Regions from separate parts of the Homo sapiens genome. Here all the other regions are linked to region 3. Evidence: promoter capture Hi-C in 16 types of primary human blood cells and fetal thymus (Javierre and others, 2016). All regions are on one chromosome and are shown on one strand. Each heading gives the region's core, a stretch centred on a gene start or on the middle of the fragment in contact. The rest is flanking DNA. Distances are from core to core; before and after follow the strand shown. Region 1 holds the start of TMEM60 (transmembrane protein 60). Region 2 overlaps CCDC146 (coiled-coil domain containing 146). Region 3 holds the start of PTPN12 (protein tyrosine phosphatase non-receptor type 12).

The links. The method cuts DNA at HindIII sites, captures the fragments that hold promoters and counts their contacts. A CHiCAGO score of 5 or more calls a contact.
Region 1: a contact is called between the fragment with the promoter of TMEM60 here and the fragment with the promoter of PTPN12 in region 3, in 14 of 17 cell types (fetal thymus, neutrophils, non-activated CD4 T cells and 11 more). The highest score is 20.7, in fetal thymus.
Region 2: a contact is called between a fragment that was not itself captured here and the fragment with the promoter of PTPN12 in region 3, in 9 of 17 cell types (monocytes, total CD8 T cells, total CD4 T cells and 6 more). The highest score is 11.9, in monocytes.

Annotation. Positions count from the first base shown.
Region 1 is chr7:77,796,414-77,800,675 of GRCh38, forward strand. TMEM60 (transmembrane protein 60) reads right to left here and starts at 2,021. Exons shown (of 2, transcript NM_032936.4): 1 at 1,841-2,021. It overlaps PHTF2 (putative homeodomain transcription factor 2), which reads left to right and starts at 2,360. Exons shown (of 19, transcript NM_001395272.1): 1 at 2,360-2,558. RefSeq lists an enhancer at 1,781-1,890 and a silencer at 2,301-2,440. The HindIII fragment of the contact is 8,213 bases long and covers 865-4,262 here.
Region 2 is chr7:77,268,664-77,273,546 of GRCh38, forward strand. The region is part of intron 9 of CCDC146 (coiled-coil domain containing 146); the gene reads left to right. All of the region lies in intron 2 of LOC102723791 (a long non-coding RNA gene), which reads right to left. Among named protein-coding and RNA genes, the nearest start is that of CCDC146-AS1, 22 kb to the left of the region's middle. RefSeq lists a silencer at 2,931-3,113. The HindIII fragment of the contact is 3,382 bases long and covers 1,766-4,883 here.
Region 3 is chr7:77,534,421-77,539,195 of GRCh38, forward strand. PTPN12 (protein tyrosine phosphatase non-receptor type 12) reads left to right here and starts at 2,875. Exons shown (of 18, transcript NM_002835.4): 1 at 2,875-3,225. The coding sequence starts at 3,127. LOC124901681 (a long non-coding RNA gene) reads right to left here and starts at 2,529. Exons shown (of 3, transcript XR_007060395.1): 1 at 1,951-2,529; 2 at 1-1,861. RefSeq lists enhancers at 1,955-2,004, 2,175-2,394 and silencers at 2,465-2,764, 3,015-3,224, 3,365-3,414. The HindIII fragment of the contact is 6,799 bases long and covers 1-4,735 here.

The sequences.
Region 1 (4,262 bases), core at 771-3,270, 260 kb after region 3:
CAACCTTTATGGCCACTTGGAAAAAGGATAAGTAGAATGGGAAATCAGAAGCCAGACTGCATGCAGCTGGGTAAGGAGTTAACAGAAGACCAAGAAATGGAAACAATTGAGAACATTTTATTCCTTTGAGGCATTTGGAGAAGAGAAAAATGAAAGATAGGGTATATGAAACTGAAAGAAGAAATTTTCAGGAAAGGAAGAATTTATGACTATAAACAGAAATAAGCCAATGGGGAATGACACTGAAGATGAGAGAGGATACTTGATGGAAAGAGAAAAAGATCAGAAGGTGCTAGGGATAGGAACAAAAGCATGCGTGGTAGGAGGAAAGATGCAGGAAGATAACAGGGAAAAGGTGAAGGAACTGGCTAATTGAGCCAAATACCCTAGATTAGCGTGCTCAATTATATTTTAGAACTAACTTTGATGTACTGTGCAACATCTCTACTACTTTAAATAGTGGGTGGCTATCACAGTGCAAGAGGACACATCTGTTCTATTTCAACAGTTAAGTATTAGTCTCCTAACTCACCTCTTTTCCCTTATACCCATCTAGTGGCACTTAAACTTGTTTACTTAATTGGCAAAGGCTTCATACTGCAGTAATTTTGCTTCTAAGGAGGCATTTTTCTGTGTTGGTTTCCTTTCCCGGCCAGAGGCTGCCATAGAGTGGGATGTGGGACTGAATTTGGAAGCAGGGTTGGAGGGGTGTGTGTTGATTAATAACCATGGATGGATTTCATCCCGTAAATTGCACAATCCCCACCTCCAATCTATCAGGCCGTTTTTGTGAACCTCTGAAAAACGGTTTATGATTATACACTTGCTTAAACCTAACTGTTCCATCTGCTATCGGATAAGACAAGCTTCATTTTTTTCTTACATTTGGCTGTACTTACCACAGGTGCTTTAGGGCTGGAGGTGAAAGGATGCAAGTAACAATCTTATTGTGCCTACAAGATTTATAATGTGGGATGCAACAAAATTCTGTTATGTTCTTGCACGGAAATACCCTCAATGGGGAAGCACTGCTGATACTTAAATGACGATTGAAGGATTGTACGCCTGTATGCTGAGCTACAACGATGACATACGATCCCAGTTTTACATTTACGTCTTCATCAATTTGAGCAGTCGTTATGTTTCCTACTATTCTCTCCACAAGAAAGGGGGAGGTGCGTACTCCAAAAATGTGCTCAACTAAAATGTTTCCCATTTAAGGTGGTTATTTCTGGCACTAGGAAGACAGTTAAATATTTGTTAATGATTCCTTACTCATTTTTAAAACCTTCGGAGTTACCCCTGTATGGACATATATAGAGCCCCACCCACATAGCCCACGGCTGGGTATCAGCCCCCATTTCCCTTCTCTCGCCACTGCCAGTAGTCTACCAAGTGAACCTGCCTCATCCCAAAGATAATTTTGCTTCATGAGCCCACATATTTATTCTTCTTCATAATGAGTCGCTTTTGAAAAGCCCGTGCAGCAACAGCCTTGGCCAAAGGAACAGCGTTCTGCTTACAACTTAGCTCATCTGGGGGCCTATTTGCCCCTGGAACTTCAGGACGCTCCTAAACTATACTTGCCCTTCTGCAAACACCGACAGTCGGCTCGCGGCGCCCCACCGGGACGCTCCCCTTTCATGGGCTGTAAGCCCAGCACATGCTGGAGTTTAACACGGTTCCTGCTGGATGCGCACAGAAGCCCTGGAGCCAAGCAGGCGTGTGCGCGTTTGGGGCTGGCTGTGTGATGGGTTGAGGGTCGGCCGCACAGCCCACGGAAGCATCAGGAGACCAGCGCCGGCGTACGGTGCGGGCTAGGGCAGAGCCCCAGACTCACCTGGCAGCGCTGCCGGCCGGAAAGCGGAGAGGGACGCGAAGATCAGCAAATTCGCCAGTTTGGATCCTTGTCCTTTTCCGCCCTTTTCCCCCCATTAAATCCAGAACCCGTCACATGATAATTAAGAAAAAACTTCAGTTCCGCCTCCTCAAACGACTGCGGTAGAGGATCTCTCAGTTCTACCTCAGTGCCGCGCCCACATCCGGGGCTGGTTCTCACCGCCCCTGAGCCTACCCTATAGGTAGAGAGGACGCCAATCTGGATTCAGAGGTCCCTTTTCCGCGGTAATTGGACCATTTGTCCGCCAGTGCAAACCAACCGACCTTTCCTTACTTTCGGGTTCGACAGAAAGGCGGCAATAAAAAGACCCATTGGTCCCGCCTCTCTACTGTCACGGGTTAGTAGGGAAGTCAGTCCAAGATCAGCCTGGAGTTTCCGTGCTCCCATTGGGCCCACAGATGTTAATCAGAGCAGCCGGCGCTCAGCTCCGCCCTCTCGGGACGCCCCGCCCCTCCTCCCATCCTCCCTGCCCGCGCGCAGTGACTGCAGGCTCCGGCGCAAAATCCTGCGGGAGAGGGGGTGGGGCAACCCTCTGGAGGCAGCGCGCCCGCGGGCAGCCTCGTTGTGGCTCCTTGGGCTCTGTTGGCGGCGGCGCTAGCTTCGGAGTCTCCCGCGCGCACCTCAGCCGCCTCCTAGCGGCGCGGCGCTCGCTCCTACGGTAAGAGCGGCATCACCTCCGCGCTCGGGTGGGCAGTGTGGAGGTCGTCGAGTTCTGACAGAATTTCGAGGATGGATCGGGACGAGGGAGGAGAGCGGTCGTCGGGATGGAGGTGGGGGCTCCGGGGCCAACGCGTCGCCCTCCGTCGCCGGCGACTTTCCCGGCAGTCTCCCGTACCTGAGGGCCGGGGTCAGCCGCGACCCCTTCTCATCAGTCGGCCGGTGGCGGAGGCTCAGCCGCCTTCCTCCCGAGCTCGCGCGGTCCTCAAGTCTTGATGGTGACGGGCCGAAGCCCAGCGCGCCACCCGCCCCTCGGGCCCCGCTTCCAGGCCCCTGTCCTTTGCTTCCTTCCCTTGGCGCTGTGCTGAGGGGTCGTCGGGTCCTGGAAGGGCGTTCAGGGGTCTCGGGTGGCTAGCCCGGCTGGCGGGGAGATGTCAGCTAGCGGCCGGAGGAGCGGGCTCGGGAGGGGGCGGCGGCTCGCGCGCTGGAGGAGGTGGAAGGAGGGTCGCTGCCCTGCCCCCTCTGAGCAGGCGGCAGTCGAGTTTTCTGATCCCAACACGGCGGAGTGGGTGCTTAAGGCATGGGCCTTAAGGGATAGTTCCCGTCTGGAAACAATACCGTGCTCCATCAGCATGCTTCAGCTTTTCTTATTTTTATCTGCCCAGTGTTGACAGCCAGCATTCTGGTATTGTCCTTCGAGTCATGGCTTTCTAACTCAGCACCTCCTTGTGTAACTTCAGGGATCATTCTGTCACTAATCTGTCACCCTTCTTATTTTTAGCGTGGCGAAAACAAGGAACTGCCTTATACTAACCTGGGCAGTGCAGAATCTGGAACAATTTATTAATCTCAGTGTGTACTTTACATGCCAAGTAATTTTGAAATTCATGGTGAATATTAAATATTTTGTAGTTTTCGGTTGCTTTCTTTGTTAATAGTATATCCTCCTTGCTTTGAGACTACTTTTCAGGTGTGATACTTTAATCTTAAGGTTTTTGGTTAGCTTTTGCCATTTTTAAACGTTTCTTTCATTTTTTTTTTCTCCAAGACTTTGGCAAGAGACTTAGTATTTGATCTTGTTTTCAGGTATTTTTGTAAAGTTTATTTTCTTTCAAACTGGGCTTTTTTCACCATATTTTTAATATTGGAAGGGGAATTCTGAAAGTCTGGAAACTGCACACTTTAGCCTAAAGAGTCACAAAACAGTATAACAATTTGAAATCCTAACTTGGATATGGTGTATGGACTGCAAATTTTAAGAGAAGGAAATGGATATGCGTTATCAGTTGTAGTGGCTCCACCTCCATAACGTAGAGGAGAGGAATCTGGAGGTCTGCGGAGAATGAGCCATGTCTGGGGCCAGAAACAGTGGTTCCAGGAAATATTTTTGCCCCAGAAATAGCCTGCCTCCCACACAGACTGGCTGTCTGAATGCATCTGATAGTTTTAAGTTAGGTGTTAGTGAGGTGGAGAGTTTTCGTGTTCCAATTTTGACCACTTTCTGGTGGAGCATGAAAATGTGGTGAGTAAACAAGTATAGTATACAATGGGGGCACTCTTGCATAGATAGTCAAGCCTCCAAGAGTAAACTTTTTTTGAGCCCAAACTGGCACTGGACAGTTGGCCCTAAAAATGAAGAAGGTGGCCCACCCAATTTTTAAACCATGAACTTTTTTTGGCTGGTCCATTTAATGCAAAATTGCAA
Region 2 (4,883 bases), core at 2,207-4,706, 270 kb before region 3:
GTTTAAGACTTTGTGTGTTGGAAATTGTATGTCAGAAGACCTTGCATGCTAAAAAATATTTTACCCTCACACTAGCCATACAGACAATTAGTGCTTTAATTGGATATGGAATTTTAGGTTGGAAATCATTTTCCCTCAGGAAAAAGGCATTAGATTAACTGCCTTCTAGCTTCACTATGAAGAAGATTTGATGTCATTCTAAATATTGATCCTTTATTTGAAGCCATTTTTTTTTCCATGCTGGGAAATTTGTAGGATCTCTTACTTGCCTCCAGAATTTTTACATTTTACAATGATGTTCCCATTGTATCCATCGTGTGGGGCACTGAATGGGTTCTCTGTCTATGGAAGTATATGTCCTTCCAAAGTTCTGATACTTTGTCTTGGATTATTTAATTTTGTCCATTTGATTTTCTCTATTCTGTCTTGGATTCCTTTTACGCAGATGTTGGACCTTCTAAAACAGTCCTCTAATTTTCTTTTTTCTTTTATTTTCCTTTCTTTTTTGTCATTTGACTTGCTAAAAGAGAAATTTCCTCAAGTTTTCCTTTCAACCCTTCTACTCTTTCATTATGCTATCATACTTTATATTTCCTTGTGCTCTCTTTGTTCTCTGGATGTTTCTTTTTCATAGTATCTTTAATCTCTTATCTCATTGAGGCTATTAATGATGGTTTCTTTTTCTTCTTCTTTTCCTAAATAAGACTTTTTCTCCGTGTTTTTTCTGTATTTTTCTTTTTTTGTTTTTGTCTCTTTCTTTTTAGAAACTTTCCTCCAATATATGGTAATTCTTGGCTATCTGCTTATATTTAAGCATGGGCTGCTATAAATCTAATTGGAAGCTGTCTGTGATGGTGAGGCTTGTCACTGTAGTTTGATCTGACTGGACACAAAATATGTGAGGCATGGCCTTTGACCGAAGAGGAGTTTGCAGTGGAATGCGCACAAGTTGTTCAGATTTTAACAAATATTATAAAAGCTATTTATATTATGACACTACTAGCTATTAAGTCCACAAAATAGCACCCATTGAATATAAAACTAAGCACCCATAGAATATAAAACTAACAGAAATTAAAGTGTATTAGAATCCTTTTCCTTTGTTGATTTTAAGAAAAATCTGGTTTTGTTCTAGTACAGTTTCAGTGAGAGACTAACTTCCTCTTTGACCCTGTGATTTATAATTAGCCCAGCCACTGCCCACAGCTGGCAGTACTTGAAAACAGGAGTGGGTCAGGCCAGGCACTCCCAGCCCAAGTGAACATTTTTTCAGACTTGCATGCAATCCAAAACTAAAAGAGATAAAAGGTAAACATGAAGAGCTCTAGCTATTCTTCAGAATGTATTTCCCCCCAGAGACAGTTGTTTGATTCTCCTATGGCGTTTGACTTGTACATAGAGACTCTCCCAGAAACTCAAGGTACAAGCCTCATGAAAGGTTGGAATGCTTTAGAAAAATATCAAAGTGTTAAGCTGAGGTTCACTGATATCAAATAATTGGGATATTTACAGCAACAAGTAATGTCTAATTTCTTAACTTTTATGAAAGTTACCGATGATTATTCATGCATTGAAAATGCCTGGAAGAACAGACACCAAAACTATTAATAGTGACTCCTGGGGAGTAGTACTTGAAGCAGCAGAGGTAGGAAGCAGATTTTTTTTTTTTTTTTACTTTACACATTTCTGTTGTTTGGTCACAATCACAATAAATACATTTTTAAATGTGAAATGCTACACTATAAAAACTAAAAGAACTATCATAAGCTTACAAAACCTGATATATGCAGTTTGGGGCTCAAAAGAAATGGAAAATATCTCAAGTAACTCCAGACCATGTAGTTAGAACTTTGATACTTGATAGTTATTTTCCTCCCACATTAATGGAGACTTCAGTCTAACTCCAGCCTATTTTCCAGATTACCTTGGGAAGGTTTCCTTTCAAGAGAAACACCTATTAGGTTAGGTTTGCAATTTGGCCTCAATGAGTAATAGAAACTCAACTATAATGATTTTGCTAAATAGGGAGTTGTTTTACTCACTTAATAAAAAGAGCACAGGTAGGCACAACCGGTTATTTCACATAATGAAAAGTCTAGGATCCTTTTAGCTCCCCTTTCAGTCAACCTTAGTGTGTACATTGTTTCTCCATGGTCAGAAAATGGCTATTCCACCTTAAGCATAAACTGGCAAAAGGAGGAGGAAGGGCAACGAGCAAAAGACATAAATGATTGCTGGCTTGGCCAGCTCCTTTTAACAGGAAAACAGCCACTTTCCCAGGACCCCTCCTCACAGACTTCCACTTACATTTCATTGGCTTGTCTTAGCTCATATGGGCACCCCCAGCTGCAAAGAAGTGTGAGGACTCCTGGATACATTGCAGCTCTGGAAAAAAAAAAAAAAAAACAGCATTCTGTTGCTGTCGTGGTTAATACTAAATGTCAATTTGATTGGCTTGAAGGATACAAAGTATTGATCCTGGGTGTGTCTGTGAAGGTGTTGCCAAAGGAGATGAACCTTTGAGTCAGTGGGCTGGGGAAAGCAGACCCACCCTTAATCTGGGTGGGCACAATCTAATCAGCTGCCGGTGTGGCTAGACTATAAACAGGCAGAAAAATGTGAATGAGAGACCGGCCTAGCCTCCCAGCCTACATCTTTCTCCCGTGCTGGACCCTTCCTGCCCTCGAACATCGGACTCCAAGTTTCTTCAGTTTTGGGACTCAGACTGGCTTTCCTTCCTCCTCAGCTTGCAGATGGCCTATTGTGGGACCCTGTGATCCTGTGAGTTAATACTTAATAAACTCCCCTTTTTATTTTATATATATATATATACACACACACTAATAGGAGATATATATATATATATATATATATATATATATATATATATATATATATATATATATGGAGATACAAAGAACCCTGACTAATAGAGTTGCTAAGATCAAGGTGGAGGGTAGCTATTGGCTAGGCAACCAGGAGGCTCTGCTACCAATGGCTTATCATGTCACCTCTTCCACAAGCCAAGCCTACCTAATTCCTGCCTGAAACTAGAGAGCTGGGCTTTACAGAGAATTTAAAATGGTATCAGAGAAGCAGTAGCCAGAGTTCAAAAATGAATACAATTTATTGAAGTATTGTTTGTGTTTCAAAATATTGGAAATAACCAAAGTGTCTAGACCTCAAGCCAGAAAAATCTGTCGAGAGCCTTTAGTTGACATAGTAGCTAGTGAGTGTGTTCTCATCATATTTTCTGTCGAAACCTCATAAGGGTTCCTGGGCCCTGTTATTCACGTTTACATCTGCCGACACCCGGGAGCTGAGCATGAGGACAGCCCACTCCAGGCACACCTGTAGCAGAGAATCAGACAGGGACCCAGGATGTTTGCTGGAGTTCCTCTATCCAGGAGGTCTTAACTTGACTTTCCTAAAGGAGAAATCAACACTTCCTTGATGAATATTCACATCTTCCAGGAAGGCTTTCCCAATTATTCAATTCTATACTGAGTTCTCCCTTTTCTGATCTGCTATAGCAATTTTATGTTTGTTAAGCCCACAACATTCTGTATATTGTCAGACATGTTTCACAAGACCACATCTCGTTTTCCTAAGTCCAGTGTGTGCATCTCAAGAGCTAGTGCTCCAGGGTAGGAGACCCAATGGAAAAGCAGGACATGGACACCTGAGGGTACAGAAGGTGCTACTGAAGATACCCTGATTCATGGATGATGGGGCATCCAAAGACACACTTTAGTGACTTTAACATAGCAGCATGATCCTCAAAAAGATCCTGTTAAGTAACCTTCAAATCACTAGACAGTGTGATATTCCTTTCTTGGGTCTAAATTTTGGCCATTATTCAACCTTAGGGCCTACAAGTGTGTGCTGTCACAGTAGGAACTGAACCACATCAGATTGGAGTCATGAGCTTTTGGTGTAAATAGCCAACTCTAAACTTGCTCTAAGTCAAGTAGGCTGGAAGCACCCCAAGATGACCCTCCCTGTAGCCTTGAATGGTACCCTTTCCCCATCAGCTGCCACATGTCCTCCTCTCTACTCTCGTCTTCATCACAAAGAATCTGACAAGCTCATTCCTAATAGGGCAACAAAGACTTAAAGAGTGAGATTTGCCTTTTCCCTAAAGTACGTCAACACAGGAGAAAAGTGCAAGCCGTTACAACAGAAATGTAATGGTGAAATTTTAGGTATCAACCAAAAAGTTGAGGCTTTTCTTTTGTGTAAGAAATTTCCAGCTACTAATCAAATGACTATATATAAGTAGCAAACTATCCCCACTATTATTAATAAATTACATATTTTTCTTTATCCTATACAATTTCATAAATGTACTCACATTTTATAATAACTATAATTTGAATAGTCATAGTATATTCATGTCTCCAAAGTGCTGGGTCATGAGTTAGATGAGTTAGGCAGATCATGGGTTCCAAGTCTACCTCCCTGGGTTTACACCTGCACCATTGAGGCAAGTTGCTTAAATGTGTTTGTGCCTCATTCTCTTCATCTGTACAATTGGAGAAAATATTCCCCACCTCATGAGGGGTATTGTAATGATGAAATAAGATCGTATACACAGGCATTTAGAACCTTGCTGGACACTTGGTTTATGTTCAATAAATGTTAGCTATTAGTAAGATTTATTTCTAAATAATAAACATTTGCAGCTGGCAAATTATAGATTTTTGGCAGGTCTTCATATTTTAATTTGCCATGGCTTATAAAGAATATTTGGCATAAAGGGAAGTTCTTATAAGATTGAGATTCGTGATTTGCTCAGCATTTTCAAAAAGTGTGTGATGAGGTTGACTACACAGCAGTGAATTTTATTTATTTATTTATTTATTTATTTATTTTCAGACAGA
Region 3 (4,775 bases), core at 1,625-4,124:
GGCCAGGCAGAGACGCTCCTCACTTCCCAGACGGGGTGGCGGCCGGGCAGAGGCTGCAATCTCGGCACTTTGGGAGGCCAAGGCAGGCGGCTGGAAGGTGGAGGTTGTAGCGAGCCGAGATCACGCCACTGCACTCCAGCCTGGGCACCATTGAGCACTGAGTGAACCAGACTCCGTCTGCAATCCCGGCACCTCGGGAGGCCGAGGCTGGCGGATCACTCGCGGTTAGGAGCTGGAGACCAGCCCGGCCAACACAGCGAAACCCCGTTTCCACCAAAAAAATACGAAAACCAGTCAGGCGTGGCGGCGCGCGCCTGCAATTGCAGGCACTCCGCAGGCGGAGGCAGGAGAATCAGGCAGGGAGGCTCTTTTTTTTTTTTAGAGACAGAGTTTCGCTCTTGTTGCCCAGGCTGGAGTGCAATGGCGTGATCTCGCTCAATGCAACCTCCGCCTCCTGGGTTCAAGCAATTCTCCTGCCTCAGCCTCCTGACTAGCTGGGATTACAGGCATGCGTCACCACGCCCGGCTAATTTTTTGTATTTTTAGTAAAGACGGGGTTGGTTTCACCATATTGGCCAGGCTGGTCTTGAACTCCTGACCTCAGGTGATCCGCCCGCCTCGGCCTCCCAAAGGGTTGGGATTACAGGTGTGAACCATCGCGCCTGGCCTTTTTATTTTTATTTTTTGAGACAGACTCTCGCTCTTTCACCCAGGCTGGAGTGTGGTGGCACGACCTCGGCTCACTGCAATCTCCGCCTCTCAGGTTCAGGCGATTCTTCTGCCTCAGCCTCTGGAGTACCTGGGACTACAGGCGTGCACCACCACACCCGGCTTTGTATTTTTAGCAGAGACAGGGTTTCACCATATCGGCCAGGTTGGTCTCGAACTCCTGACCTCAAGTGATCCACCCAACTCGGCCTCCCGAAGTGCTAGGATTACAGGTGTGAGCCACTGCACCTGGTCTGAAGTGCATATTTCTGGAGTGGATGTATTAGTTGGATTATTTTAACAGAAATATTTTCCTTTTTTTGAAGAAGTAAATAAACTATATCCTGTTACACCTATTTTCTTTTCTTTTTTTTTTTTTTGAGACAGGGCCTCACTCCCGTCGCCCAGGTTGGGGTGCAATGGTGTGATCACAGCTCACTGCAACCTCCGCCTCCCGGGTTCAGGTGATCCTCCCATCTCGGCCTCCCAAAGTGCTGGGATTACAGGCGTGAGCCACCGCGCCCGGCCTACACCTATTTTCTTCAATGAGTTTTTCACTAAATTCCATAGTGCTCCTAACTTTCATCTGAGAAAGTATTCTACCACTGATATTTCCTATTATAACCAAATTCGCTGACCAATCTGCTCTGTAAAAAAAGGTTTGTGGGTATAAATGACGAAAGTCAGTTCATGGATCAAATCCTTCAGTTCTGTCACATTGTGAGAGGCCACTGTTGTGAAAGTAAAATAACTTCTAGTTACGGCTCTGCTAAGAATACGCTGGGGGATGTCAGGAAGTCGCTTTATTTGTAAAATGATGAGTTAGACCAGAATATATTCTCTGATAGAAGTTTACAAAGATGAATAAAGATTTATAGGCTAGGCGCGGTGGCTCACGCCTAAAATCCCAACACTTTCGGAAGCTGAGGATCCCTAGTGCACAGGAATTCGAGATCAGCCTGGGCAACCTGGTGAGACCCCCTTCTCTACCAAAAATAAATAAATAAATAAATAATAAATTTTTAAAATGTATTAGCTGGGCTTGGTGACGTAGTGAGGCAGGAGGATGCCTTGAGCCCAGGAGTTCAAGGCTGCAGCGAGCCGTGATCATAGCACTGCACTTTGGCATGGGAGATAGAGCAAGACCTTAGCTCTAAAAAAAAAAAAAAAAAAAAATTAATAGATTTATAAAGTCCATTCTATGGAGGAAAGTCTCTTATTCAGTTATGAACTGCTGCGAACCTAAAGGCAGGAAGGCAAATTCCCTTCAGTTCGGCAAACACGAAGACCCCACATTCGCGTCGTCTGTGAAGAAGGCACTCCGAACCTCAGGCGCTCACTCGCCAGGTTTAAGAGGATGAGCAAAGAATAAAAGTCCTCTCACCCAGGAAGCGTTTCGCTTCCCTTAGCTGGAGCCACGCTCCAAGGTGCCAAAGCCTAATTGCTGTCCACTCTCACCAATCCGTTAGCAAGATGAGCATCTACCTGCTGCGAACGTGGCGGTGACACTACTACAGCTCCCAGCCTGCCTCCCGCCCGCCCCCACTCCTGGACTCCACAGACCGTGACTTGTAGTCCCAGCCCACGGCTGGCGGCGGTGCGGGACTCCTGAAAACTGCTTTTCCTCCCTAGTAGGCGGTGAGACCGCAAATTCCATCAGAATCCTACTCTGACCCACTAGGGCTTGGCCCGCTCAGAGTCGCATTCCCTCCTCCAAATGAACCAACTCTCCTCCCAGCGATACTCCGACCTCTGAGCACCCCGGGCGGGGCCACGCCCCGGAAATGGAGTCAGGTCTCCAGGCCGCCCGCTGAAGTGCCTTCCAGCCACTCCAAGCGGGGCTGGGGCCGGCGGGGCGGGCTTGGGGGCGTGGCCGGGAGGCGGGCGGGGATGCATCTGCGGGCGCAGCGCTTGGGGCGGAGCCGCAGCGCGAGGCCGCGCATCTGGGTGGCGGCGGGGACGCGCCCGTGGGGAGAGGCGGCTGCGGCTGCGGCTGCGGCTGCTGGCGGGGGGTGGGGGGGAGGAGGAACCGGGAAGGGGGGGCAGGGCGAGCGGAGAGCTAGCTGTGTTCCTGAGGCGGCGGCGGCGGCGGCGGCGGCGGCGGCGTCTCCGACGGAGGAGGAGGGCGGGGAAGGAGGATGGAGCAAGCTGGGGGTTGGGGTTGGCGCTAGCGCAGCGGCTCGCCTGGTACTGTGGGAGAGCGGCGGCTGCTCCTGGAAGTTGTGGTGTCGGGAGCCCAGCCGGTGCCGCCGCAGCCGCCGCCTAGGGCGGTGGGGAGGAGGAGGGAGCCGCGGGGCTTGGCGGGGTCGGGAGGGAGGGACGTGCTGGGGGAACGAGCTGGGGAAGACGGAGCGGGCTCTGTGCCGGGCGGGCGGGCGGCGGGGGGGCCAGCGACCGCAGCCGGGGGGACGCGGGAGGATGGAGCAAGTGGAGATCCTGAGGAAATTCATCCAGAGGGTCCAGGCCATGAAGAGTCCTGACCACAATGGGGAGGACAACTTCGCCCGGGACTTCATGGTGAGTCTCTCCCCTCGCTGTCGCGTTTTCTTGCCGGCGCCGGAGCCCATCGCCGCCTCTCCCGGCCGGGCCGCCAGTGCTTTGTGTACCTCTGTGAGGAGAGGGGCGGAGGGGGCGCGCACCAGCCGGGTGAGCCGGGTGGTCTCGGAGGCCAGCGGGAGGCGAGAGCGCCTCCCCCCGTGGCCTCCTTTCTTCTCCCATGTTCGCGACCCCCGCGCGGGTTCCCGGGACGCGAAGGGAGCGGCCGCGCGGCCGAGCCCGCAGCCTGCACCGTGGCTCGCGACCACCTATTGTTTACCGGGCCGGGAGCCGTAGGCAAGTGAGGTGCAGGCCGGGGGGGGGGGCTCGCGTTTCCACACCTCCCCGCGCAGTTCGCTCCTCCCAGGAGGGTCGAGGCAAGGTATCTGGCTGTGACCGGGAGGAGTGCAGATCGTGGCTGACAGAGGAACGGGGGTATTGAGGTTGGCACTAACTCCTGGGATCCCTTTGCTCTAGCTGGTCTCAAAGCGGGCAGGGTAGGACTTAGGCCGTTTCTGGGGTCGCAGTCATGATCTCCAACGCTTGGGAAAGGATTGCCCATAAGGAATCTCATGGGTTTACCTAATTTCCATTTACCCGCGTCCCGCTTCTCCTCTCCTGAGGCCCAGGTTTGAGGTGGTCTTGGGGTCCGTGTGACTATAGGTTCAGGGGATAAGTGTGGGTGGGGGAATTATCCTGAAGGAAGCCAGCCGACTTCGGACTCCCCAGGGGATATTGCCGAAGGCGGAGGGGATGTGACTATCACTTCCTATCCGGGGTGGGGGTGGGGAACTTGGGAACAATAGTCCTGGTGGGGCGGAGGCGACGCTACGGGCCGAAGCCCTGAACTGGGAGATAACCTTCCCAGCGCCCCCCCGCCTCCGCCACCCCCTACTTTCCGCCCTCTGCTTGTGCAGGCAGTCTTGAGAGGAGGTGAAGGTTAAAAGTCTTGTTCATGAAATTGCTCTAGATACACTATTGCTTTAGCACACTGTGAGGGGGTCAGATCCGAAGGCGTGAGACCAGAAGTCGACTTCCTACGTTACCCACCCCCCCAACCCCCGCCCTTTTTATTTTTCTGCTGGACAATGTTCCCTCTAGGGTTGTTTCCCGGCTTAGGAGGCGGTGGTTGCGGCTGCTGCTCCTACGGATATTGCGCAAGACTGGGGCGTTGGAAACCCTGTAGGTCTGGGGAATGAAAAAGGAAGTGGGACTTTGGGAAGTGGTTGCTCCTTAGTCTTGGCGGGGGTTGGGAATGGGAAATAAGCTGGGGAAAATTTTTATCTTGGGTAAGGTACACCTCGAAGAATAATCACTTAATTCTGAAATCTGATTATGAGAAGGATACACAGTTAATGCCTGTAAAATGAATGGGCAGCAAACATTGGCTAGTTTTTATTTTTTGTTTAAAAAGTACAGTAGTTTTTATGGTGGAGGTGATATGACTTAGTAGTGAATACTTTTTCACGTTTTAAAGAGACTGGTCTAGTAAAGCTTTAGCGTTAAATTTTTAACAGCTTATAAAATAGGCC